Regions from separate parts of the Homo sapiens genome. Here all the other regions are linked to region 2. Evidence: promoter capture Hi-C in 16 types of primary human blood cells and fetal thymus (Javierre and others, 2016). All regions are on one chromosome and are shown on one strand. Each heading gives the region's core, a stretch centred on a gene start or on the middle of the fragment in contact. The rest is flanking DNA. Distances are from core to core; before and after follow the strand shown.

Region 1 (4,294 bases), core at 35-2,534, 3.0 Mb after region 2:
TTCCACCAAAAAATATGACATGTGTTTTTCTTTTGGTAAAAAGCATTGAAGACAGTCAAAATTTTTTTTCTTTTTCTACCTAGTAATCTTTGTAACCTCCTGGTTTGAGATTTTAAAGGTCATCTCGTTGCCCATTGAGTATAAGCTCTGGAAAATTCCAGGTGGTCATTTCTTCCAGGTGTTTTGAGAGGGGCCCATTCATCTCTTTGAGCTGATAGACATATTTTCCTCTTATAACAATACAGTAGACTGGGTGCGGTGGCTCATGCCTGTAATCCCAGCACTGTGGGAGGCCTAGGTAGGCAGATCACTTGAGGCCAGGAGTTCAAGACCAGCCTGGCCAACATGGTGAAACCCCGTCTCTACAAAAAAATACAAAAATTACCCAGGCATGCTCTTGTGTGCCTGTAGTCCCAGATACTGGGAAGCCTGAGACACAAGAATCATTTGATCTTGGGAGGCAGAGGTTTCAGTGAGCTGAAATCATGCCACTGCATTCCAGCCTGGGCAACAGAGCAAGACCCTGTCTCAAACAAACAAACAAACAAACAAAAAAACTTTTATAAACCAGTATTCCCCATATTTATTTGACCCAGAAACATTTTTGGAGGAATGACACCTGTTCTGGTTTGAATTGTGGCTCCTAAAGAGGTATGTCAAAGTCCTAAGTCCCAGTTCTTCAGATGTGACCATATTGGGAAACAGGATCCCTGCAGATGTATTATAATTAGTTCAGATGAGGTCACCCTGGACTAGGGTGGGCCCCTAATTCAATATGGCTGGTGTGCTGAGAAAAGGAGAAGGAACACAGGCTCCCAGCAAGCTTCTTCCCATCTGGGAGTGACACATCTAGAAGCCAAGGGACACCAAGGCTGGCTGGCCAACACCAAAAGCTGGAAGAGGCAAGAAGGATTCTTCCCTAGAGCCCTCAGAGGGAGCATGGCACTGCCAACATCTTTTTTCTTTCTTTTCTTTTTTTTTTTTGTGAGACGGAGTCATGCTCTGTCGCCCGGGCTGGAGTACAGTGGCACCACCTAGGCTCACTGCAACCTCCGCCTCCCGGGTTCAAGGGATTCTCCTGCCTCAGCCTCCTGAGTAGCTGGGACTACAGGCGCCCGCCACCACACCTGGTTAATTTTTGTATTTTTAGTAGAGACAGGGTTTCACCCTGTTGGCCAGGCTGGTCTCGAACTCCTGGCCTCAAGTGATCCGCACGCCTCGGCCTCCCAAAGTGCTGGGATTACAGGCGTGAGCCACCATGCCCGGCCACTGCCAACATCTTGATTGCACACTTCCAGGCTCCAGAGCTGGGACAGAATGCATTTCTGTCGTTTTAAGCCACTTCGTTTGTGATACATTGTTCTGGGAAACTAATACAGCATCCATTAGCATCTCTCAGACAGTTTGAGAAGCCCTGAACTAGAATCATTCAAAAGCAACCCCCAACGGACTAAAAAGACGAAATAATTAGTCTGTGCAGGAAATTTTCCAAACTCCATGTAATATTTGTTTTATTTATAATAAGAGGAAATACATTTGAACAAAGAAGCTCTCATAGTATTGGCAATTTTACATATATCTCTGTTATTGTAATTTTTTTTACTTGCTGGGCTTGGTAATTCTTCAATGGACATGAAAGCTATGACCTAGAGAGACTATAGAGTCGCTGGTAAGCGTACGCCCGAGGCCCTGGGCGTCCCCACTGGTAGATGGTGGCGTGTGGACGAACAGCTTAGTCCTTGGGCAAAGCTTGTGCTGGTCGAGAGTGGCGAGTCTGGGACAGAGACCCAGGCTGCTCCCTGCTGCTTCCAGGCTCCTCTCTCTTAGACTTAATGCCCAGGAAACTGAGTATTTTCATCAGCAGCAAATCTACGATCTCCCCTTCCTCCGACAGCTGCAAGAGAAAGAACCAGGCAATGCCCATAGAACCATCTTCTTTGGGGGCTTTTCTTTCTAAGGGGAAGTCATAGTTTTTATTTTTATTTATTTTATTTTATTTTATTGTTTGAGATGGAGTCTCACTGTGTCGCCCAGGCTGGAGTGCAGTCGCACAATCTTGGCTCACTGCAACTTCCGCCTCCCGAGTTCAAGCGATTCTCCCGCCTCAGCCTCCCGAGTAGTTGGGATTACAGGCACCCGCCACCACGCTCAGCTAATTTTTGTATTTTTAGTAGAGAGAGAGTTTTACCATGTTGGCCAGGCAGGTATCAAACTCCTGGCATCTAGTGATCCACCTGCCTCGGCCTCCCAAAGTGCTGGGATGATTACAGGCTTGAGCCATCGCATCATCCCTGGCCGAAATCACAGTTTTATTGTCCAGTTTGGTCTCAACCTAGGTTACTTCACTGTTGAGAGCTGTTTTAGGGCAGAAAGGCCTCCCTCTGGGAATGCCAAGGGTGTGTGCTCCATCCTTTATCCTCAGCGGGCTCCCTCCACCTCTCTGATGAGGATGACTGAGTTTTCACTGCCACATTTCAAATTCCCAAGCCAGCGCAGAGTAAGCCTCGGCTGGGCGGCTGAGCCTGAAGTTAAACAGCACATGGGCCCCCTTCTGAGATGAGTGTCTCCCCTTTTCCTCTAGGTCAGAGTGTTGGTGGTGGCTCCTTCTTTCGTTCTTTTTTTTTCTGAGACAGAGTCTAGCTCTGTCGCCGAGGCTGGAGTGCAGTGGCTCAATCTCGGCTCACTGCAGCCTCCGCCTCCTGGATTCCAGCTATTCTCCTGCCTCAGCCTCCCGAGTAGCTGGGATTATAGGCACACACCACCACGCCCAGCTAATTTTTGTATCTTTGGTAGAGACAGGGTTTCACCATGTTGGCGGGGCTGGTCTCGAACTCCTGACCTCAGGTGATTCACCCACCTCAGCCTCCCAAAGTGCTAGGATTAGAGGCGTGAGCCTCTGGGCCTGGCCTTGTGGTTCTTTATTATTATTCCTTCTGCTTGCTCTGTTTACCTCCTGGCCTAGCCTGGTATGGGAGGAAGTTCTGGGAATGAAAAAATAAATAGATGTTTCTCTCTGGCTTTCCCACACTTCTCAACCATATACACATATTTAAGAGTGACTTAAAGCAAAGAAAGAACAACTTCTAGGAAACAGGAATGGCAGACTATAGGTACCAATGAGGCACGTTCAGTAAACTCGTCAGAAAATGCTCTCTACCACCCCAACAGAGGCTGTTAAGAACTTATGTACAGGCTGAGCACAGGGGCTTATTATATTTATAATCCCAGGATTTTGGGAGGCCAAGGTGAGACGATTGCTTGATCCTAGGAGTTCGAGTCCATCCTGGACAACATAGTGAGACCCCATCTCTACAGATAATTTTAAAAATCACAGCTGAAAGTGGTGGCTCACACCTGTAATCCCAGCACTTTGGGAGGCCAAGGTAGGCAGATCACCTGAGGTCAGGAGTTTGAGACCAGCCTGACCAACATGGTGAAACCCCATCTCTACTAAAAATACAAAATTAGCTGGGCATGGTGGGCACATGCCTGTAATCCCAGCTACTTGGGAGGCTGAAGCAGGAGAATTGCATGAACTCAGGTGGCAGAGGTTGCAGTGAGCCGAGATCGTGCCATTGCACTCCAGCCTGGCAACAAGAGCAAAACTCCATCTCAAAAAAAAAAAGAAGAGTGTTTAAAAATCAGGCCAGGTGTGACGGTTCACACCTATAATTCCAGCAATGTGGGAGGCTGAGGCAGGCAGGTCACTTGAGCCCAGAAATTTGAGACCAGCCCGGCCAAAATGGGGAAACCCCATCTCTACCAAAAATACAAAAAAATTAGCCAGGTGTGGTGCAGTCCCAGCTACTGGGTCTAAGGTGGGAGGATGGCTCGAGCCCAGGAGGCCGAGGTTCCAGTGAGCTGAGATTGCACCACTGCACTCCAGCCTGGGTGACAGAGCAAGCCCCTTTCTCAAAAGCAAGCAAGCAAACAAACAAACAGAAGAATTTATGTGCAAAGGTCCTGCACATTGCTGCTGGGGATCTAAAATGGTACAGCTGCTTCAGAAAACAGTGTGGCAGGTCTTCAAACAATTAAACAGTTACTGTGTAAACCAGAAATTTCACTTCCAGGTATATGCCCAAGAGAAGCGAAAACACATGTCCATATGAAATTCTGCCCACAGAATGTTCATAGCAGCATCGTTTGTTAAAGCCAAAATACAGAAACAACCCAAATACCCATCAGCTGGGGAATGGATAAGCACATCGTTGTTTTACCCACACAATGAAATATGACTCAGCCGTAAAAAGGAATGACGTGGATACACGCTACGACATGGATGAATCTTGAA
Region 2 (4,504 bases), core at 1-2,500:
TTTTATTTTCCTTCCTTCCTTCCTTCCTTCCTTCCTTCCTTCCTTCCTTCCTTCCTTCCTTCCTTCCTCCCTCCCTCCCTCCCTCCCTCCCTTTCTTTCCAGATTCTGGACCTATTCCAGACTTACTAAAGGAAATTCTCTAAAGGTGAGGCAGTTTTTTAAAGACAGCAGCTCTCTCTGTCGTCCATGCTGGAGTGCAGTGGCCCGATCATAGCTCACTGCAGCCTCGACTTCTTGGGCTCAAGTGATCCTCCCCCTTCAGCCTCAATGAGTAGCTGGGACTACCGATGTGCACTACCACGCCCGGCAAACTAAAAAAATAATTATTTTTGGTAAAGACAGGGGTCTTGCGATGTTGCCCAGGCTGTTCTCAAACTCCTGGCCTCAAGTGATCCTCCTGCCTCAGCCTCCTAATGTGTTTGGATTACAGGCATGAGCCACTGAGCCCGGCCTAGCTACCCTGTCTGAGTTGTGCCCACTACACAAAGGTGTCAGCTACATGTGATGTCTGTGCATTTCTGGCCTGGACCGCACATTAAGTGCTCCGTAAACATCAGTCTCTATTATCAACAGTCTCTATTATCAATCAGTCTCTATTATCATCAGTCTCTATTATCATGAGTCTCTATTAAACAACAGTCTCTATTATCACAGTCTCTATTATGTGTTTTGGCTGAAAGAAAGTTCTCTAAAACCAGGAAATCAGGAATCAGCAGTTTTAAGTTCTCCAGGTTATATTTTAACATTGTGTTCATATGCAAAACAAAGGTTGTGAATCAGCACGAATGCTGGCAAGCCCTGGAAGGTTTGTGATCACGGACTTTCACGAGACCCCAAGGCAAGGAGAGACAGAAGCCCAGGACAACAGCATGGGCGCCGCTTTTTAGTCGGGCGCCGCTTTTTGGTCAGGCGCCACCTGGACTACATTTCCCATATCCAATTGCCGGGCTCCTGCAGGATTGGCCAGAACAACGCGGAAGTGATTACGGGTCGCCCAGCAACGGGCGGAGTCCTGGCCCGAAACTGGATGCGCACGCCCCTTCCCTGCGGCGGGGAGGCTGACAAGGCTCCGCTCTATCTCTAGCGCCTCGGAGCGCTCTCCGGCTTTGCTGTCTAGCCCGGCGGCAGCGCGATCTCTTAGGCACTTTCACCGCCTTCCTCTCCAGGCCCTGCCCCTTTGACGCCGGCCGTCGCGATATTGCGGAGACTGGATTTCAGCTTCGTGGTCGGCGGAGCGGCCCCTGGAGGGCGCAGTGCGCAGGCGTGAGCGGTCGGGCCCCGACGCGCGCGGGTCTCGTTTGGAGCGGGAGTGAGTTCCTGAGCGAGTGGACCCGGCAGCGGGCGATAGGGGGGCCAGGTGCCTCCACAGTCAGCCATGGCAGCGCTGCGCTACGCGGGGCTGGACGACACGGACAGTGAGGACGAGCTGCCTCCGGGCTGGGAGGAGAGAACCACCAAGGACGGCTGGGTTTACTACGCCAAGTAAGGGGGCCGCAGTGGGGCCGCGGACGCACCTGGGACCCTGCACAGCCCACGGACGCCACCTGCGCGGGGAGGACGCGCACTCCAGCGCAGCGCGTGCGGTGCAAAGTGAAAGTAACTGTTAAGGAGCTTCAGGGAAAAGGGTCCAGGGTTCCCAGTAGGGGCCGGCCCCCTTGGTGGGCCTCGGGTCCAGCGGGGGTCACCTGGTGGCTTCCCGGCGCGCCCTCTGCTGTTCAGGATGCAGCACTGCGCGGCGCGGCGAGGGCAAAGCGGCCTCATCCCCGCCAAAAAATAAAGATGTTTTAAAAAGCGCACATGCTCAGCTCCCTCCTGCAGGCTCTGGGTTGCAGGGATAGGAGTTTTGTTGTGTTTTGTTTTGTTTTGTCCAGACCGGTATTGCTCAGTCATCCAGGCTGGAGTGCAGGGGTGCCATCATAGCCCACTGTAGCCTCTACCTACTGGGTTCAGACAATCCTCTCATCTCAGCCTCTTGAGTGGCTGGGACTACAAGCGTGCACTACTATGCCCGACTAATTTTTTAAGTATTTGTAGAGACTAGGGTCGCACCATGTTGCCCAGGCTGGTCTCGAACTACTGGGCTCAAGCAGGCCACCTGCCTCAGCCTCCAGAATTGAGATTACAGGCGTGAGCCACTGCGCCTAGCCAGGAGTATTTTTTAGTAGCAGTCCTAGATAGCTTCACTATCATTTCCTGGGAAAGTTTTGGAAACCCCAGCAGAGCCTTCATCTTTAACTGTGTGACCTTGGGCCATTGAAATAACGTTTAATCTTGGTTTTTTCACCTGTAAAATGGGTTGATACGAGGGTCAGTTCAGGCACTGTGCGTAAAGCACATAGCACCGTGTCTAGTAGGTACTCTCTGTTCCTTAACTGTCGTTCCTTGATTGCTCTTAAGATACGACAGTGCCTCTTATATCGGCACCTTAGAATCACCTAGGAAATGTCCTAAATACACGTTTTGGGTCTCCATAGAGAACCTACTGTAGCCGACTCTCAACTTTGGGAGTCTCTTTTTTTAAGCTTTCCAGGTGAGGTGGAATATCACCTGGTTTTGAGAAACATGGATGTAAATCTGATTTTCAGCATCTGGGAAACTTTTTTTGTAAGAGCCTTTTTCTGGGCCCCACTTCCAGAGGGTTTTTCTTTTTTTTTTTTCTTTTGAGACGGAGTCTTGCTCTGTCGCCCAGGCTGGAGTGCAGCGGCGCGATCTCGGCTCACTGCAGCCTCCGCCTCCCGGGTTCACGCCATTCTCCTGCCTCAGCCTCCCGAGTAGCTGGGACTACAGGCGCCCGCCACCACGCCCGGCTAAGTTTTTGTGTTTTTAGTAGAGACGGGGTTTCACCGTGTTAGCCAGGATGGTCTCGATCTCCTGACCTCGTGATCCTCCCGCCTCGGCCTCTCAAAGTGCTGGGATTACAGGCGTGAGCTACCGCTCCCGGCCTTTTTTTTTTTTTTTTTAAAGACAGGGTCTCGCTCCGTCGCCCAAACTGGAGTGCCGTGGTGCGATCTCGGTTCACTGCAACCTCTGCATGCCGAGTTCAAGCGATTCTCGTGTCTCAGCCTCCCGAATAGCTGGGATTACAGGCGCCCGCCACCAGGCCTGGCTAATTTCGCGCTGTTGGCCCGGCTGGTCTCCAACTCCTGGCCTCAAGTGATCCGCCCACCTCGGCCCCCCAAAGTGTTGGCATTACAGACAGGAGCCACTGCGTCAGCCCAGAATTTCTGATTTAATTGGTTTGGCCCCTCCCCTCTCCCTTGGTAGGTTGTAAAATCTTCCCTCCCAGGTGATTCTAATCTATGCAAGGATGTGAACCACTGCTGCCTTTGGTGGCAAGGTAGAGGAAAAACAACCAAGTTCTGATGAGTTCATTCAAGACACACACAGGTATTATGTGACAGGCCTTTGGCTGGCACTGGTTATACCGAGGCAAATAAGAGCCAGTTGTCATCCTTAGGACCCAATCTTATTAGGGCACAGTGACATGTGTAGGAGCGTCCCCACGCAGTGTGTATACCAGGAAGTAGTGTGTCTGGCATGAGGTGTGTGTAGGTAGTTGGGGGGGTCGTGAGGGAATATGGTGGCACCCTCACAGTAACCTTCACTTCCTGGGCTCAAGCGATCCTCCCGCATCAGCCTGTTGAGTACCCGGGACCACAGGTGTGTGCCTCCACACCCAGCTAATTATTACATGTTTTGTAGAAATGGGGTCTCACCATGTTGCCCAGGCTGGTTTGAACTCCTGAACTCAAGCCAGCCTCCCTCCCGAAGCACTGGAATCACAGGCCTGAGGCACTGTGCCAAGCCCAGAGCGGTGTTTTGAGCTCAAGTAGAGGTGGGTGGGGCAGGAGGGCAGTCTAGGTAGAGGGAACAGTGAGAGGAGAGACCCCCTGCATGGCCTGTCCAGGGGCCTGTGATCTTTGTGAGGGTCCAGGAATGTGAAGGTTAAGGCAGGGAAGGGAGGACCCATTTCAAGGATTTCTGTGCCTTGCCGAGAAGCTTGGGCTCTGTTGGCAGAGCCAGAGAGTGGCATTCATTCAGCTTGTGAATTCTGGAAGAATTTCTGGCTCTGGAGAATTAAAGGGACATTTCCAGCAGCAGAGCTCCAGTAGCCTTTGCAGGGACGGAGGCAAGCTCCTGAGCGGGCACTTGCTGTTCCTCTCACCTGTACATCTGTTGGGGAAAGGCTCCTTCTCATCCTTCAGAGCTGAGCTTACATGTCACTGCCCAAGAGACCTTCTTAACTGTGGGTGTCCCCTCGACCTTGTACTAGTCACCTTGTTTCTCTGCTTCTTCGTGCTTAGCCTTGGCTGTGTACTCCTCCTTGTTGGCCCTGTCTCCCTTGCCCAGGTTGCAGATGTCATGGGGCAGCTTGTTCATCTGAGTGTCCCCAGTGCTTGGCACCCAGAAGCCATAAGATGAGCCCCTGTGGGATGAGTAAATGAATCACCTTGGGAGGGTCAGCCGCAGGCTTCTGTGGGTGGGTGGGTGGTGCACTGGGCCC
Region 3 (4,070 bases), core at 1,109-3,608, 3.2 Mb after region 2:
GTCAACTAGAAGCTAATCATTTCTGAGCTGGGCAAGGATGCCATTGAAAACAAGAATGATGGTGGTGATAGTAATGATACATGTAACAGCTCTTAGCATTCACTGAACACCTGCTACGGGCCGGATCTTCTTGTCAGCACTTCATCACTGCTGTCTCATTTAATCCTCATAACCACTCTGTAAGAACTGCTACGATTGCCCCAGTTTTACAGAGGGAGAAATTGAAGAAGCAACTTCTAAGTCTGGGAGAACAGACCAAGAGGGAGGTTGTTAGGAAATCCCTTGAGTTAAATGAATTTAAATGACTTCACAGATATTTAAACAGATCTAAGGCACAGGCAAATTACTTATGTGATGTAAATTCTGCAGAATAATCCAGCTCATTGTACACCCAGCAGTATCCTGGCTAGAATTCTAGGGAGAAGACAAGCACCTTTTATATGCTTTCAGGTGTATAAACAACATAAAATATACAAACTAAATTTAAAGGGTGAAAAGTGCAAAGTGGTGTGTCTTGACAGGGGAGAATAAGGTTCTTGCACTGGACCTAGCTTGAAAGAAGTTATTGGGGCAACCTATGCCCAGAGCTACTATATTGTGACCTTCTAAGGTTTGGAACGTTTATTTCAGGTCCTTTGAATCAGTTTTGATAACTCATCTTCCTCCAAGTTGGCAATGTTAGGTTAGGCAGCAAGAGATGAAAAGGTCCAGGAAAATATTCATTCATTCATTCAATAAGTAAACATTTATTGAGCACATACTATATGCCAGGCATTGCTTTAGAGGCTAGGAATACAGTGATAAAATAAGAATCTTTGCCAGGCCTCATGAAGCCTTATAATCAGAAGAGACACATAATACACTAATAAACATATATAATTTTAGGTAGTGATTACATGCAGTGAAGAAAGATGAAGCCAGTTAAGGGGAGGCATTTATGCAGGAGTGTGAGCCAAGGCCTTTCTGAGGAGCTGACATTGCAGCTCTGATTTAAGAATGAAAGAGCAAGCTATGAGAATGTGAGGAAAGAGAGTTCCAGGCTGAGCAATTAGCCAGTGCAAAAGCCCTGAGGTGGGAATATACTAGGCTTGTTCAAGAAAGAGCAAGAAGGCCAGTTTGGTTGGTGCACACTGAGGGGAGAATGGCAGGAAATGAGGCCATGGAGGAAGCCAGATCACGCAGGGCTTTTTAGACCATGGTAAGGGCTTTGGGTTTTTTCCCTAAGTTTGAAGGAAAGCCATGGAAGAGCTTTGAACTGGGAAGTGACTTGATCTGATTACCTTAGGAGGAGAAACAATTCATAAGGGGGCAAGAGAGAAAGCAGGGGGAGCAGTTAGGAGGCTGTTGCAGGAGAGCTGAATGGTACCTGGATCAGCGTGGTCTTGGTGGAGGTGGGGAGGAGTGGCTGGATTCAGAAGTTAGCCTGCAGGGCCGGGCATGGTGGCTCACACCTGTAATCCCAGCACTTTGGGAGGCTGAGGTGAGCGGATCACCTGAGGTCAGGAGTTCGAGACCAGCCTGACCAACATGGTGAAATGCTGTCTCTACTAAAAATACAAAAATTAGCTGGGTGTGGTGGTGGGCACCTGTAATCCCAGCTACTTGGGGAGCCTGAGGAAGGACAATCACTTGAATCTCAGAGGTGGAGGCTGCAGTGAGCCACTACACTCCAGCCTGGGTGACAGAGCAAGACTCTGTCTCAAAAAAAGAAAAAAGAAAAGAAAAGAAAAGAAAAAAAAAAGTAGTCTGCAGGAAGAGCTGCAGGATTCACTAGAGAATTGGATGAAGGGTATGAGAGACAGAGGTCAAGAATGACCCTAAGTTTCTGTCTCTAGGTAAATGAATGCTGCTGCCATTTACTTGGAAAATGAGTAGGTTTAGGGGTAAAATCAGGACTTTTTGTTTTTTTTTTTTGAAATGGGGCCTTACTGTGTCTCCCAGGCTGGAGTGCAGTGGCATGATCACGGCTCCCTGCAGCCTCGACCTCTTGGGCTCAAGTGATCCTCCCACCTCAGCCTCCCGAGTAGCTGGGACTAAAGGTAGGTGTCACCACACCCAGCTAATTTTTTTTTTTAAGTAGAAGCTTACTTTCTGAGGTGTTAAATTCTAGGTTTCTATTATTCAAATGGCAATGTTAAGCAGGCTGGTGAATATTTCCGTTTTGAGTTCATTGGGGAAATATGAAAAATAACATGTGAAGTAATCCCTTGTAAACAGAAAAATCTCAATTCTATTAGAATTTATTCCTTCAGCAAATATTTATTGGGCACCTACTGTGTGTCAGGCACTGTACTGGGTGCTGGGGTAGAATACATGATGAATTTGGATAGGAACAGTTACGACCTTCATGGAGTTTCATTACAATTTAATTAGTTCACCGGTTTCTGAGACACTTCTCTGAGTACTGTGTAAATATATAGAACCAACTCTGAAGCGTTATAAATACTGAGATGTTCTCTGACTCAGCAATTTGAAAGAGCCTAGACTTTTTTTTGGAAAGAAAACAGCTATATATAGATTTGGACAAATGAAAGATTTACCCAATAAAATATCTGAAGACTACCTTAAAATGAATCAGAAGAGACTGTCTCAAACAAATGAATGTTTATGACAAGTCGACTTGGTGTAATGGAAAAGCTTACAGGGCTGGAAAGCAGAAGATCTAGACCTTAGTCTGTTCTGCCCTGACTGGGTCACACCTATAACCTTGACTGAGTCATTTGCTCATCTGTACTTTGGTTTTCTCTTCAATAAGATAAATCCGTTGGACTTGATATTTGCTAAAGAATTTTCAAACTGTTAATATTTTCTTTGCATTATTTCTCTTACTGGACTCTCTAAGTAGTTTTTAGGAAATAAAAGCCCAACCCCCCAAGTGGATTCCTCTCTTGAGGGCACATTTTTCAAAGCAAAAGAAAGCTTTTTTTTCCCTTTTTGCAAAAAGACATTGCTTTCTTGTTTTTTTAATGATTGTAAAAAATTATGCATGATCAGTACAGAAAATAGAAATCGAGGAAAATACAGAGTAAAAGCTTCTATAATAACACTGAGACAACTATACTTTCACCATCACTGTATCTGTAGCAGGTATCGTACAGCAGGTGCTTTAAAAACAGTTGTTGAATGAATGATTACTGTTAATATCTTGCAAACATCCTTTTTGGTCTTCAGACCAAAAACGAATACATAAATAAATCCTTTCTCTGGGTTGTTTCACCTCTAAACCAGAAGAGCTCAGTAAAGCCACCAGAGACTAAAGCTGTTAGGACAATATCAAATCTCTTACATTGTAATATGTTTCACAATGACAGTTGATATCTGATGCCTATGGAATATAAGGAAACAATAACATTTAATCCATCATTCTGATAGGCACAATATCAAGGGTGGCTCAGTTTGAGCAATATCAAGAAGGCTGCAAAACAGTCCACAGTACTTCAGCTCAAGCAAGAGTGGCTCCGGCAGCACTGGGAGAGTTGGCTCTGCCTCCTGAATCCTTCTTCCCACACTTGGGCCCTCTTCCTTGCCCACAGCACCAGGAGGAGCTTTCTGGGGCATGTGAATTCCACTCAACACATTTTATTGGCAACCTAGCAGCCATTTGATTGTCGACTACATTTTCAGTAAACTAATCGTTTCCTGATTACCTCTGAACATGAATTACAGCCAGATCTTGTCTGTAGACCCATGCTACATTTTTTCCTCCAAATGGAATTAGTTGCTAATGTTGAAAATCCGGAATATTCAACATGTAAAGTCTGAATTGTCAGAATCTCTTAAAAAGTTGTTAGATCCACCACCACTGGGCCCCTATCGCACAGAGCAATCAATCAGAGCTGAGGAGCATGTGCTCTTCAGCTCCCATAAGCCCACCTACTCCTATTGTCTGACATCCCACATCCCACAGTTTGCTTTGCTAATTTACCTGATACGCTCCTGCTAATTATGTAAAACATTCATGGGGTACCTACTACACATCAGGCACTGTGTAAGTCCTGGGAACATAGGCAGATAAGGCAAAGCCCCTGCCTTGGAGGAGCTCACAACCCAGCAGTGGAAATGACTTACAA

What was found. The method cuts DNA at HindIII sites, captures the fragments that hold promoters and counts their contacts. A CHiCAGO score of 5 or more calls a contact.
Region 1: a contact is called between a fragment that was not itself captured here and the fragment with the promoter of WWOX in region 2, in 9 of 17 cell types (non-activated CD4 T cells, naive CD8 T cells, activated CD4 T cells and 6 more). The highest score is 22.8, in non-activated CD4 T cells.
Region 3: a contact is called between a fragment that was not itself captured here and the fragment with the promoter of WWOX in region 2, in 7 of 17 cell types (non-activated CD4 T cells, naive CD4 T cells, naive CD8 T cells and 4 more). The highest score is 16.9, in non-activated CD4 T cells.

The regions. Positions count from the first base shown.
Region 1 is chr16:81,099,391-81,103,684 of GRCh38, forward strand. It overlaps the pseudogene PKD1L2. Among named protein-coding and RNA genes, the nearest start is that of GCSH, 5.1 kb to the left of the region's middle. The HindIII fragment of the contact is 926 bases long and covers 822-1,747 here.
Region 2 is chr16:78,098,404-78,102,907 of GRCh38, forward strand. It overlaps WWOX (WW domain containing oxidoreductase), which reads left to right and starts at 1,251. Exons shown (of 9, transcript NM_016373.4): 1 at 1,251-1,482. The coding sequence starts at 1,376. RefSeq lists an enhancer at 1,485-1,984. The HindIII fragment of the contact is 3,217 bases long and covers 1-2,520 here.
Region 3 is chr16:81,307,784-81,311,853 of GRCh38, forward strand. No RefSeq gene overlaps it. Among named protein-coding and RNA genes, the nearest start is that of GAN, 5.1 kb to the right of the region's middle. The HindIII fragment of the contact is 554 bases long and covers 2,082-2,635 here.